Linked DNA regions of Homo sapiens: region 2 is linked to region 1. Evidence: promoter capture Hi-C in 16 types of primary human blood cells and fetal thymus (Javierre and others, 2016). All regions are on one chromosome and are shown on one strand. The core of a region is centred on a gene start or on the middle of the fragment in contact, and the rest is flanking DNA. Distances in the headings are between cores, read along the strand shown. Region 1 holds the start of NPPC (natriuretic peptide C). Region 2 overlaps ALPI (alkaline phosphatase, intestinal).

Region 1 (7,149 bases), core at 1-2,500:
TTTGTTCTCTCTCCAGCCTGCGTCCTGCTCAGCAGCAGCCAGTCATAGATTCCTGCTCTTCAATCAATTCGGGGGATCTGGGCTCTCCGCCTCTGCGGCCCACACCGCAGTGCCCAAATGCCCACCACACTCCTTAGTGTCCAAGGGACCGAGAAGCCCAGTGCAAGGAGAGCAAGTTCGTGAGTGGTAGGGATATGTGGCCATGTCCCGAGAGCCACGGGGACCTCTCTACAGTCAAAAACGGGAAGTTGACCACCTGTCACGGCTGGCAGAGGCTGGACTGGGCCGCTGGCTAGGAAGCTCTCTCCCCAGCCTGTGAAAGTGCACAGGATACTGGAGCGGGCTTCCCCCAGCAGCGGATCCTCGCGTGGGTGCAGGCAAGGTCAGGTGCGCATTGTTCCCACAGAGGGAGTTCACCAGCGGAGTCAGACCCCGGGACGTTCTGTGTGGCCGAAACCGGCTGAACGTGAACCTAGAGCAGTAACTGGCGAGCATACGATGCCGCGGAGCACACGCATGAGCATGAATATCTTGGTTCCGCGCTCGCAGTCCCCTCGTTCCCGCCTTGCGCTCAAACACTCAGGCTGGCGACACCCCTGCACTCTCCAGTGTGGAAGACTTGCGCTCCCCCCTGCGGCCCAGGCGAACCCCGCTCTCCCTGCGCCTCCCACCCCAGTCCTCCAACCCCATCCTCTGCCTCCCCAACCTAACGACGTCGCTGTGGTCTGCGCTCCCGCCCTGACCGGCAGGTGAAAGGCGGAGCTGCAATGCCATCCCGCGGCTGTCAGGTGCCCAGGGAAGAGTTTGGCGACAAGCAGGGCTGCGTGGATTTCGGGCAGCGCCAACTTTATGCCTGTATGACTTTGGGCAAGTGACTTCATTCCTCTGAGCCTGTCTTTGCACCTGCAAAGAGGGCTACGTATCCCTTCCAGGTAGAGTGAGTGCGATGAGGACCTAGTGGGTGCACAGGGCACCAGGCGCACCGATGCTCGGCAGGCCAGGGCGCGCGCTCGCTGCAAATGGAGTTCCCCTGTGCGCTCAGCTCTGCAGCTCCAAGTGCAGCCTGGAGCGAGCCCGCCGAGCCGCGGGATCCCTCCGGGGTGGGATAAGGGAGGGGAGCCCCCGCGGCCCCCTCCCGGCCCTCGGCGCGGCCGCGTGCGTGGTGTCATTGGCCCGGGCGGCCCGGTGGGCGGGAGGATGACATCAGCGGCAGGTTGGATTATAAAGGCGCGAGCAGAGTCACGGGCTCAGAGCGCACCCAGCCGGCGCCGCGCAGCACTGGGACCCTGCTCGCCCTGCAGCCCAGCCAGCCTGCTCCGCATCCCCCTGCTGGTCTGCCCGCCGACCTGCGCGCCCTCGCTGCCGCCCGTGTGCGCCCCTCGACCCCAGCGGCACCATGCATCTCTCCCAGCTGCTGGCCTGCGCCCTGCTGCTCACGCTGCTCTCCCTCCGGCCCTCCGAAGCCAAGCCCGGGGCGCCGCCGAAGGTGGGTGCTGTCGTGGGGACGCCGAGCCTGGGAGAGGCGTGGGAGGCTGGGGGCTTGGAGAATGCGGCGCGCAGGACCCAGGAGAGAGGGAAGGCAGGCGGCTGTCTCCTCCGAGATGCGCGTGGGCGAGAGCCGGGGAGCCCTCGAAGCGCGGATTCGGGGGTCCACTTCTCCAGCCTCCGGAGAACATCGGCCCATGCGCAGCCCCCTACCCCAGTGTGGCCTGCCCGGCGAGCAGCAAAGGGAGGGCAGGGGGCTTCCGGAGGGAGCGGCGAAGGCGGCCGCGTGGCAGGTGGATGCGGGGCCAAGCTGGCCGGCATCGGTGGGGGCGGCTCTGGGCTTGGGAGGGACACCCCGCGCCGGCGGGCGCGTGGGGCTGGAGCATCAGAGTCCCCCGTGCTGCAGCCGCGTGTCCCTTCACCTGCCCGCTCTTTCCTCGGACAGGTCCCGCGAACCCCGCCGGCAGAGGAGCTGGCCGAGCCGCAGGCTGCGGGCGGCGGTCAGAAGAAGGGCGACAAGGCTCCCGGGGGCGGGGGCGCCAATCTCAAGGGCGACCGGTCGCGACTGCTCCGGGACCTGCGCGTGGACACCAAGTCGCGGGCAGCGTGGGCTCGCCTTCTGCAAGAGCACCCCAACGCGCGCAAATACAAAGGAGCCAACAAGAAGGGCTTGTCCAAGGGCTGCTTCGGCCTCAAGCTGGACCGAATCGGCTCCATGAGCGGCCTGGGATGTTAGTGCGGCGCCCCCTGGCGGCGGTGAGTACGGCCCACCCGACGCCCAGCCCCAGCCCGGCCCGGGACCGCCCGCCGCCCAGCCGGCCTTCGGAGGCGCGCGAGCCGCCTTTGCTCAAGTTGTGCTAGGCGTTTGCCAGCCGCCCCCTTTATTATCCCACTTTACAGACAAAGAAAGCGAAGGATAACGTGATCGGGGAACTTTGGCAAGGTCAGAAACGGCTCAGCCTGGTTGAACCCACCTGGCTTCTTCTGGAGAAGCAGAAACAGGCTTGGTGGTGTCTCACCCACCCCTGAACCGTAGCTGAACTAGCAGCACTGGCCCCTATTGGCCAGCTGGTGGGGGGATTGAGAGGAGATCATGGGTTTGTGGGAGCAGAGAAGGAAGGTTACACCCACAAGTCCAGGGGACATCGATCATCTGCTGGCCACCATGCCCCCTGTAGTGAGAGTAGCCCTCTGCTGGCACTGTCAGAGCGCCCTTCTGCCTGGGACACTCCGATTCCTGTCCCTTCTCTAAACCCAGGCAGTGGGCAAACTGGTCTGTCCAGGGTCCTGAGGCAGCTGCAGCCTGGTGGCTTCGGGGGTGAATCTCAGTGCTTGTGGCACTATTTCAGGGAATAGGAAAGACACTAAAGTAAATATTATTTGCCCCAGCCTCGAACTCAACACGTCCCAGAGTCCCTCACCAACCCTGTCCCGACCCAACCGGTGCTCTGGGCTCCGTTTCTGGTGTGGGGTCTCACCCCGCACTAGGGCTGGAAACCTCTGCCCTACCGCCACCCCCTGCCGGGTGCCGCGTGGTGGTAATTTACTGCTGCAGAGAGCCTCACCTCTCCTCTTTCCCTCCTCTCTATTCCTGCCGCCTGCCCGTGCCCACTGAATAACATCCCAGCCTCTGACATTGACAGTCATGTGCGTTAGGATCAGGCTTACCTGGCTTTCTCGCTTTCTTGCCTCCAGCTCAGCAGCTGCCACTGCCTGTCCCACACCTTGACTGTCCCATCCCAGGCTACGGGCAAGCTGCTGTCTCCTCCCCAGAAACCCTTGTCAGTGTCGGATCTTCTCCCGGAGGGAAACAAGAGCGCCTGTCCAGCACACTGTCTCTTTTTTACAGTACAGAACACTTTTTCACAGTTTGTGAACCCATTCACCTCTCCATATTGAACAGCTTAAGGGCGAAGTGCTGGCCTAAGGCACTCTAGGACCCACTGCACCCCGAACAGACTCGTGGAAATATTTGTCAATGACCAGAGAAACCAGCACACCCTGGCCCATGGCCACTCCCACCTGCCCGAGGTTTTAACCAGTGCCCTTCCTCTCTTTGCAGCCAGACCTCACTCGGCTGTGGGCCTCTCCCCAGTTCTGCAAAGGCTGTAGTTGTCTGTGATCTTGACTCTCCCCTGCACAGGGAGAAGAATGATTCTGACACTTGGGGACCAGCCTTCAGTAGCTACCCTTGGAATGCCTTTGCTCTCTTCTCTCCTGTCTAAACAACAAAGAGACGGAGTCTGAGGCCTCAAATTTTCAGTTTGATTTAAGCATCAAGTTCAAACTTTAGAACCTGAGCAAATGTTAGTGACTCTCCATTGGTTCGTACCTGGAATGCGCATCCCCACAGGGGCTTTGTTCTTGGGCCTGGATGTCTGTGGTCACCAAGTGATGGCCAAACGGGTGGTGAAAGATGCTGTGTAGGAGGAATCCACATTGTTAAGAATTCTCGACCCCTTTGATCAGGGGGGTTCAATAATCTCCTACCAGCTCTCTTAGCATAGATGAACACTTACCGTCGACACCTTCAACACCGGCTTACGCCCAACACCAGCTGTTTTATTATTATTTGGGAAGGGCGGTGTGGATTTATTATTTGGGATTTTTTAAATGAAAAATAAAAACCCCACCCTCACTGCCCCCCATTCCCAGTGAGAGAGCAGAACATCATTCCTGCAGGCTCCTGGTGACGATGCCCAGGATATATCACTGGGCGTAAAGAGAAAGACAGCTTAGATTTTTCACATTAATGAAAACTCTTTGAGGTTGTGGCTGTTTCTCCACGCAGTGGGTGACCTGGGCTCTAAGCCACCGTAATGATGGTGGTTGATGGTTCTAGGTATTCATTGTAAAATGCTAATGACAGAGACTGGGTGTAGGTGAAACCTGAATGAACACTTTGCCCCTGGGGCCCAGCAACATCACAGACAGCTGTCATCTGTGTAAACTCACGGCAGAGCCAGAGAAGGGAGTGGGGGAGGGTTCATCAAGCCATTCTGGCCCAGGTCCCCTCTGTGCATGCTGTCCTTTGGGAGGGCACTGAACGCCCCTGAAGGCCACCTTCCTTGGGCCCCGGGGCACCCACACACCCATTAGCAGAGAGTTTACCCTAACAACACTCAGAGCCCATGACTGTGCATTTCCCCAAGGCTGGTGTGAGACACCATTTCCTCTGCTCCTGAAGGGGACCTGGACCCAGACCCTTTCCTCTGCACAACCAGCTAGGGAAGGAGGTGCTGTTTACTGGGTGGCAGCTGTGACCCAGACACTGCCGATGCCCGATCCGAGGCTCCCTGTTGAATCTGAAAGCCAGCCCTAGGAGGTGGCTATTATCCAATTTTATGGGTGAACACTCCCAGCTATCCAGGGTCATCCAGGGACCCAACGTCAGAGTAGAGATTTGAGCCCAGGATTCCTGATCCTGAGATGTCTCTCTTCTCCTTCCATCCATGGTCACTCAGACACACGAACCCCGGGCGAGCACTGACTGAGGGTTTGCGTTGTAGCAAAAAAGGGATGGGAGATTTTCCATTCTCTTTCTCTCACTGCGCTTCCCTGAGTGCCAAGGGCAAGGCCTGTGGTTAGACTGGGGGAAGAAGGAGTGTTGCAGACACGCTGGTTCCACTTGTACTGGGGCAGCAAAGCAGAAGGGGCCTGGGGAGTGCGCAATGGGGGGCTCCTCCCCTCTGCAGGAAGGCCTGGTTGGGGGGGTGGCGGAGGTAGGGGAACATCCCTCAAGCTGCTGGGAGAAGGGGAGGAAAGGTTCTAGAACCACCCTGCCTGCTAGGATTTCTCAGCTAAGGGGCCAGAACTGAGCGTCCCGTGTTCACTCTGTGTTTCAGGATCGGGAACTGGCTCCGTTGTGCTGAGGTCATCTTTGGTCATCAGCCTCCAGCATCTGGAAACACCTCCAACGCAATGTGGCTTTTACATTTCTTTCTTTCTTTCTTTTTTTTTCCTGGTACTGGGAATACACAACACCAGCTGTTTTATTATTATTTGGGGAGGGGGTTGTGATTTTATTATTTGTTTTTTTAAAATGAAAAATAAAAAGTTATATATTATATATATATTATATACATGAAACACACACACCTACACCGACTTGATGACAAGGGACAGTTTTTAAGAGACTGACAGAACCAGCTGTAAAACATTGCTGTTTGTAAATTCATGTCATGCATAAATGTATTTATGTTGTAAAGCTATTTATATTGTTTATAAAGAGATATTTATAAAAATTTTATTTATGTAACTAAATGAAAGAAGTCAATCATTGTAATGTTTTTGTCCTAACTAGTTAAAAAAAATGTAAAAAAAAAAAAGTCATTCCATGAATATCTTGAAAACTGTCTTTATTTACTTGTTGCCTGTATTTTTTAGGACTTAGGCTGAGAAAGAGGGAGAATGTGAAGAAAAGGCATTGCCTCCAAATAGGTCTGACAGGCAGATTCCCAATTCTGGATTTATCTGTGTCAGAATCCCCTGGAGACCTTGCTAAAAATACAGATTCCTGCCTTCTCCGAATCTGATAGGACTGGCTGTGTAAGTTTCGTCCCAAGTGATTCTGACCAGCTCAGCCAGGTCAGGAAGCTCTGCTCAAACACCTGACCGCTAGGAAGTCAGATGTTATGAATTAAATTAATGACGGCCGGGCGTGGTGGCAGGTGCCTGTAATCCCAGCACTTTGGGAGGCCAAGGTGGGTGGGTCATCTGAGGTCAGGAGTTCAAGACCAGCCTGGCCAATATGGTGAAACCCCATCTCTACTAAAATTACCAAAATTGCCGGGCGTGGTGGCAGGTGCCTGTAATCCCAGCTACTCGGGAGGCTGAGGCAGGAGAATTGCTTGAACCCAGGAGGCAGAGGTTGCAGTGAGCCGAGATCACAGACGGCACCCCAATCCTGGGCAACAGAGCAAGACTCCATCTCAAAAAAAAAATTAATTTTGAATTCAGCTGACTTAGGGTCCTGTAAATTCTACTCCATCTTCTGCTGTTAGTGGAAGAAATAGCTGCTAACTCCCTCTCTGTTTGGGGGAGATTTAGAAGGCTTCTGCATATCTTGCAGAATTGGCCAGGTCACCTTACGAATCTCAGCAACTCTGTTTTCTAGACTCGCTCACAAAGCCTAGGATGGGTAGTTTGTGCCTCATAATGAATGCCATGGTCAGCTGGGAGCCGAGACCTTGGAGAGAAGGAAAAGGCGTTATCAAATTTCATATCTGTAGTGTGCTGCGCTTTGTGGGAGGGTTGTGGGTTTTCTTTTCACTTGAAGCCACTAACAATTACATTTCCTATGCCCCATGGAGCTATGAGTGTGGAATTATGAATATAATTTAGAATTTATGAATATAATTTAGATTAGAATCTCTTCTCCTAAAACCAGCAGGAAACTTTGAAATAATTCCGAGGTACTCTCACTACATGCTTGGTTGGATGACAGCCCTGTGCAGCCTTCCCTGTCATCTGTCCCCTGTTAGGGGAAGGTGGGAACATACCCTCTTGGGCCAGTAACATCAGTGGATTGGGGGCACCCTGCTCAGGGGAATTGGGAGCAGTGTTGCCCTGTGCTCATGGGTCCGCAGGCACCGAGAGGAGTTCCAGAGGAAGTGTCACTGGGGAGGTAGCCAGTGTCACCTGGTCTTTCTGTGGGTGTTTGAG
Region 2 (7,149 bases), core at 1,764-4,263, 540 kb before region 1:
GCTGCCACCCAGGATCCCGTAGCCTCTGGCAGCAGCTCACGGCTGGTTCATTGGACCGGCAGGCAGCTCAAATCCCCAAGAAGCTGTCACATGGTGCAGTCAAATCGCATCTTTCCTTGTCTATATTTTGCATAAATAATAATTTTAAAAAGCTTCTATGATCCTGTGGAACCAAACCATTGCAGGGACTGCTGTCAGGAATCTGTGTGGAGAGATCTGAAGGCAGCTCCTTGGGGAGAATTTTCCTTTACTCTAAGGAGCCCAGACAGGGTGGGTGGAGGTGGGGAAACTGTGCTGGCTGATAACAAATTTGCAAATCTGGTGAACAAAGAAAGTGCCAGAACAGGGTACCAGGGCCTGGCCACCTCCCTGTTAAGGGTGGATGGTGGCCTCATCTTTTGACAGGGGACTTCTGTTTCCTCCTTGAAGGGCAGCTCAAGAGCCATGTGGCTGGTTCCCAGGCACCATGCCAAGCGCATTAGCAAAGACTGGCAGCCCCAGTGGCAAGGTTCTATCAAGGGGAGCTTCCAGCTGCTTGTTGGTGTTGGGGTCTGGTGTGTGCACTGGCAGTCAATGGTCAGCTGGGGTCAGTAGACCCTGGGGCCGCCTTAGATGAAGGGGTGCAACTGCAAATCCCACACAGCTTCCGGAAGGCCTCTGGAGCCCCTCTGGGAGGCTGAGATTCAGGGAGGCTTCCTCTAGGGGCAGAGGCCAGTTATGCAGCTGCTAACCTGGTGGGGAGGCCTGTTCCTAGAACCAGTGGGGCCAGGGCACGATCAGATGCAACTTCAGCACCCAGGCCAGAATGGCACAGCTGGGATCCCCCTTGAGTCCTCCCGAGAGGCTGCCGGAGTGTGCTCCTCTCGCTGGATCTGGAGGCTTCCTGTGCCAATCACTGGATCTGTGCAGGGGCAGGGGTTCAAGGGAACTCGATGGGCAGGGGGCTTCGAATCTGCTGGGGACTGAACCTGTGGTGCCTTCTGGGGTCTGTGCTCTGCAGGGAGTGAGATACCCCTGCTCACAGGGAGTTGCTCAGCCTGGGCATCCTGCCCAGTACTCAAGTACTTCAAAACTCACCTGGACCTTGGGGTTTGGTTAAAGGGATGTCAGGCACTCCTGAGTGCCTACTGTTTGCTCAGCTCGCCATATGCCTTGCCACAGCCCTGAGCAGTGGGCGCCCCAAGAGCTCATGTTTAATATCAAGTTCCATGCTGGCGCCTTCACCCTTCATGCAGGTACCACCCCACGCAGTTCTCTGGTGTCCCAGAAGAAGGGAATTTGGTGCCCGAGACCAGGGGTTGATGCAATACCCACTCTGGATTGCACGCTTTCAGCGGATTGCGGAGGATTAGAGTTTAGTGCGTCTAAGTGGATTGATGGATTATATGATCTTGTTTTTTTTTTTTTTTTTGAGACAGAGTTTCACTCTTGTTGGCCAGGCTGGAGTATAATGGCACCATCTCAAAACCTTCGCCTCCCGGGTTCGAATGATTCTCCTGCCTCAGCCTCCTGAGTAGCTGGGATTACAGGCATGCGCCACCAAGCCCAGCTAATTTTGTATTTTTAGTAGACACAGAATTTCTCCATGTTGGTCAGGCTGGTCTTGAACTCCCAACCTCAGGTGATGGCCGATCACCTCAGCCTCCCAAAGTGCTGGGATTACTGGCGTGAGCCACCGCGCTCGGCTTATATGATCTGGTATTAACCGAACTCATCCCCCAAAATGGCCAAGTGGCTCACACAAGATTCCTGTAAGGAATCTGCAATGAACACCAGAAATCCAGAGCAGGTGAACCACAGCAGAAGGGAGAGCTGAGAATTCCTTATTACTCTTGGCTGAGCTCAGGGTACAGACCTGACCAGAAGTTAGCCCCTAAAATAAAAAATCAGCAAACAAAACTCTTTGAATTTCCCCCACTCTGTGGTTACTGCTGAAGTTTGCCCCGGGTGCCTGGTGCCTGGAGCTATTAAGTCATCAGCAGTGTGAAATCCTCATGGTTGGCAAGGTGTCTAAAACTAAGCTTTCAGAACCGAAGAGAAACCTGAGCAGTTTTTTTCCCAGCGGTGTTTAAAGTTCTGTGCTGTTCAACCCAGTACTTCTTAGTTATTTCCCTAAGCAATGATAAATATTTGGAAAGCTCTTTTAAAGTTTCTTGCATGATAGCATGAAGCAAAAAACATCTACCAATGGGCAGACACTTATTCTTTCTGCTGCAGGAAAAATGGCAGAAACAATGAACAATAAATGATCTGTCGACAAACCGAAAGGCATTTCTTTGTCAGCAAACACCATCGAAAGATGTAGAGAAAACACTGCCGAAGATTGGAAGAAACTCATGTTAGAGCAAATTACCCAGTGTGGGAGGTTTGCTTTGCAGTGTGCTGAAAGCACAGATGTTCCCAACATGGCTCAGCTGAAGGTATTTGCCAGGTTCTATTCCAATAATGAAATACACAAACCACTTCTTTCTTTCTTTCCTTTTTTTTTTTTGAGCCACTAAAGGGAAGATATAGCAGACAAGATATATTGCCAACAGTAAATGCCTTCTTTAATAAAAACGATGTCATATGGGAAAAACGGTAAAAATGCAACCACAGATAGAATAGCTACTCAGAAAGGGTTTTTTAAAAAAGGATTCTGGATACGAATCAGGGTGCAGAGGTGGCTTCACCCTTACCCCTCACTCATTGGCTCATCCACAGTCTAATCAGCGCAGGGAAGAGGTAGAAGCCTGGAGGGCATAGAATGTTGCAGACCATCAGTGGGCTAATGTTATAAAGCCAAGACTGTGGCATTACAGTAGAATCTTTCCCATACTTGGTAAGGAGATTGGGTGGACCATGAAAACTTTCCAGCCACACAGAATGACTTATCTTCATAGCAAAATACCGAAGAGGGTTGCCCCAAGTTCCCCTCCCTCTCTGCTTGACTTTCCCTCCCTCCTTATTTATTTATTTATTTTTAGACGGAGTCTCACTCTGTCGCCCAGGCTGGAGTGCAGTGATGTGATCTCAGCTCACTGCAACCTCCGCCTCCTGGGTTCAAGTGATTCTCCTGCCTCAGCCTCTTAAGTAGCTGGGGCTACAGGCGCCCGCCACCAAGCCCGGCTAATTTTGTGTATTCTTAGTAGAGACGGGATTTCACCGTGTTAGCCAGGATGGTCTCAATCTCCTGACCTCGTGATCCGCCCACCTCGGCCTCCCAAAGTGCTGGGATTATAGGTGTTAGCCACCGTGCCTGGCCCTCCCTCCTTATTTTTAAAAAATTTATCAGTAATTTTTAATGTATGTCTGTTTCTGCTTCCCTGTGATTAACTCTTTTTTTTTCCTGTGAATATTCTTTTTTAAAAGTTTAGATTCAGGGGTACATGTGCTTGTTTATTACATGGGTAGACTGCATACTGGTGGAGATTAGGCTTCTAGTGAACCCAATACCCATATAATGAGCTTGTACCCGATAGGTAATTTTTAAATCCTCACCCCCACTCCCACCTCCCTCCTTCTTTTTTTTGAGAGGGAGTCTCGCTCTGTCACCCAGGCTGGAGGCAGTGATGTGATCTCGGCTCCCTGCAACCTCCGCCTCCAGGTTCAAGCAATTCTCCTGTCTCAGCCTCCGGAGTAGCTGGGATTATAGGCCCCCACCACCACGCCTGGCTAATTTTTGTCTTTTCAGTAGAGACAGGGTTTCACCATGTTGACCAGGGTGGTCTCAAACGCCTGACCTCAAATGATCCGCCCGCCTCAGCCTCCCAAAGTGCTGGGATTACAGGTGTACGGCACCATGCCTGGCTAATTTTTGTATATTTAGTAGAGATGGGATTTCCATGTTGATCAAGCTGGTCTCGAATTCCTGACCTCAAATGATCTGCCCACATTGGCCTCCCGAGTGTTAGGATTACAGACGTGAGCCACTGCGCCCGGGCTCCCTCCTTCCTAAAGACCAAAATGCTGACACTTTTGAGATGACAAGAGCTGTCTGTTTTAGGCAATCAGGAAAAAGCTTGAAAAATAATTGTACTTTTCTTGCATCTGCTCCTTCAAGGTAAAGATGTCCTTTCAATGAAAAAATGAGAAAGTAATCATCTTGGAATGAAAACTCATGCCAAAGAAAACATTTTTTAGAACCAAAGTTTGAGAATGTTTTCATTGACATGTGAATTTTGTGGTAAAAAATGTATTTGACTGATAAAACCCTGATCCCTACACATTTAAAAAAACTTGAAAGCAGATTATATATTCGAATCTGTTTTTTAAAATTTAGATATAATTTACATACCATAAAATTCATCCTTTTATTTCATTTTTTAGACACAGATTTTCGCTATGCTTCCCAGGCTGGAGTCCTATGGCTATTCACAAGTGGGATCATGGTCCTCCAATATTTTTGTGACAGCTACTAAAACCCAGAATTAAAAAAGAACTACCCTGAGAGTCAGGCCTTCAAACTGATGTTTTACAATTTTATTTCAAGGTTTTAGTAAATAAGAAAGCATATTGAATGATGTTACTATTTCTTGCAAAAGCAAGATGCTTTTTTGCACCTTTGTAAATGTACAAATAAATTTGTAATACTGCAAAATTTGCTGGAAAATGTGGTTGATTTCACCTTTATTCTTTTCAATGTTCTCTTGGAGCAGGTGTGTACTCACTAAGTATGGCTGTATTGGGATGGGCGCTCCAGAATACTTTCAGAGGGAGGTCAGAAACACCTGGAGTCAGCTCCTTCCCCAGCTTTCACCTGAGCCTGCCACCACCCCCACCCTCTGCCCAAAAGACCAGACCCTTCTCCTGGCAGCAGCCAGAGTGCTTATTTCCCAACCAGGGCAGGTCACAGCCCTCCTCAAAGACCTCCAACCACACCCCTCTAACCAGACTTCACAGTCCCCCATGCACACCCCACTCTCCTGACCCCTCAGGCTTTCCCCACTCTGCCCACCCACCCCCACCCCTCTGATCCAGCCCTTGGCCTCCCAGAGCACCTGCTGACACTGCCCCAGGGCGTTTGCACTGCTGTGCTGCCTTGCTCAAGCCCCCACTCTGTTCAAGTCTCTTGCTCAATCATCTGCCCCTCAGCAGTACCTCCTGGCCTGCGTTATCCACCTCTCCAGATACTGTGCCCACACTCACTCATGATTTTTCTCCTAGGAAGTAGTACTGGCATTACATTGTCTAACACCTTTTATTATTGCTTTGTCTCCTAGGAGAATGGAGACCTTGAGGAGGCAGGGGAGTCTTCCTTGTTGAGAAATCTATGCCCAGCATCCAGATGTCCCGGGAGGGCCCATGGGCTCTGGGTTGCTGCCCTGTACCCAGAGCTCCTCAAGCGCTCCTTGGATCTGGTGACCTGGAATGGGCACTGGGGGGCAGGAAGCATCTGAGTGGCTGTGACTTGGGGCAAGCCTCTGCCTCATTGGTCCCTTGGTCAGGTGCAGGGGTGTGGAATGATCCTAGTGGGGAGACAGCAGAGGACTGTGTCAAAGCCCCCCTGGGAATCCCCGATCCAGTAGCCTCCTTGGGTGGGTTGCAGGGTTGCCGGAAGCTTCTCTTCTTCAGGTGTCCTGATCCACCCAAGTCCTTGGGTCTACCAGGTGCTGCCAGGATTGAAGCTAAGACGGTGGGGCACGCGGTCTGGGTGTGTCGTGTCCCACGATGGGGGACGTCTCTGGGTCCAGGCCTGCTTGGTCTTCCTTAGGATAGAGGCAGGGTGGGGGTTGGGTGGTTTTGGTCCCTTTATTGTCTGGGGTGCAGGCAGCCGCATGGCACAAATCTGCAGTCTCTGGGGTTGGGAGGAAGAATCAGAGAACAACCTGAGGGGAGGTCCTGGAAGTCCCAGGCTCAGCTCCCAGGGCGCCCTGGGCTCCTGCTCCCTGAAGGGGATGCGGAGGGAAGAAGGGCCCCGCTGCGCCAGCTGAGGCTGGTTTATCTCTAGGAGGTGAAGGTCCAACGGCAGGACACCTGTGTGTGTTCGCTGGAAGTGGCGGCTCAGGACGGGGAACAGGGCAGGACGCCCGGAGGTGGGGAGCAGGATAACTCCGGAGTGGGGCACTCAGGGAGCAGCGGACGCCCCCAGCAGCAGCAGGGTCCCGGCCAGCAGTGGCAGCGACGCGGCAACTGGGTGCGCGGCGTCGGTGGTGCAGGCGGGAGGCGCCAGGTCGCAGGCCGTGTAGGGCTCCAGACAGGCAGCGAAGGCCATGACATGCGCTACGAAGCTCTGCTCCTGCACACCATGCACCAGGTGCGCCTGCGGGCCGCGCGCAAACACCGCCACGTCTTCGCCTCCGTGGGTCTCGGACGACAGGGGCACCGCCGCCTGCTGCTGGTAATCGGGGCTCCCTGGTAGGAGGGTGAGTGCACTTCAGGGCAGGCAGGCGGCGTCCCCCTCCCGCGAATGCCCCCATCCCTGGCACCCTGGTCCCCCTGCACGGGCCATTCAGCCTCACTCACCGCTCTCGCTCTCATTCACGTCTGGTCGCACGCCTGAGTTGAACACGTAGCCCGGGCCATTGCCGTACAGGATGGACGTGTAGGCTTTGCTGTCCTGAGCCTTGCTGGGGGCCAACCCTGTAGGGAGATGCGGGTCCCTGTAGTTGAGCTGACCACAGCTGTGGGAGTGCCTCCTATGTGCCAGGCACCGCCACTTTTTGCCTGTTCGGGGGCTCGGTCCTCACAAGATCCCTATAGGGCTGGTGCCAGCATTGCACACTTTTGACAGAGGAGGAAACTGAAGCTCAAACTTCACCCTCATAATTGATGCAGCAGCACCTGCCACTCTCCCCAGGCCTACCGAAGATGGAGCTCCCTCGCAAGGTGTAGCCACCAAAGGAGAAGACATGGGAGTGGTCAGCGGTGACGAGGGTCAGCGTGTCCTCCTCGCTGGTGAGCTGGCCCGCCCTCTCAATGGCGTCGTCGAACATGACCGCCTCAGTGAGTGCCTGGTAAGCCACACCCTCATGATGACCATGGTCGATGCGGCCGCCTGCAGGAAGGCCAGAGGGGGGTGATGCTTGAACCTGCCCTGCCGCGCCCCGCCTTCCTCCACTCCCCAGGGGCCACCACGCACCCTCCACAAAGAGGTAGAAGCCGCGGGGGTTCCTGCTCAGCAGGCGCAGGGCAGCCTCTGTCATCTCCATCAGGGAGGGGTCCAGTGTG

Evidence for each region. The method cuts DNA at HindIII sites, captures the fragments that hold promoters and counts their contacts. A CHiCAGO score of 5 or more calls a contact.
Region 2: a fragment that was not itself captured here is called in contact with the fragment with the promoter of NPPC in region 1 in 1 of 17 cell types (M0 macrophages); the score reaches 5.8 in M0 macrophages.

The regions. Positions count from the first base shown.
Region 1 is chr2:231,920,497-231,927,645 of GRCh38, reverse strand. It overlaps NPPC (natriuretic peptide C), which reads left to right and starts at 1,250. Exons shown (of 3, transcript NM_024409.4): 1 at 1,250-1,486; 2 at 1,931-2,241; 3 at 5,331-5,837. The coding sequence starts at 1,397. The coding sequence ends at 2,221. RefSeq lists an enhancer at 1-560 and silencers at 962-1,181, 2,137-2,186, 2,267-2,356. The HindIII fragment of the contact is 15,333 bases long and covers 1-7,149 here.
Region 2 is chr2:232,458,044-232,465,192 of GRCh38, reverse strand. ALPI (alkaline phosphatase, intestinal) reads right to left here. Exons shown (of 11, transcript NM_001631.5): 8 at 7,061-7,149; 9 at 6,785-6,976; 10 at 6,445-6,561; 11 at 4,440-6,333. The coding sequence ends at 6,047. Among named protein-coding and RNA genes, the nearest start is that of ALPI, 5.5 kb to the right of the region's middle. The HindIII fragment of the contact is 1,979 bases long and covers 2,024-4,002 here.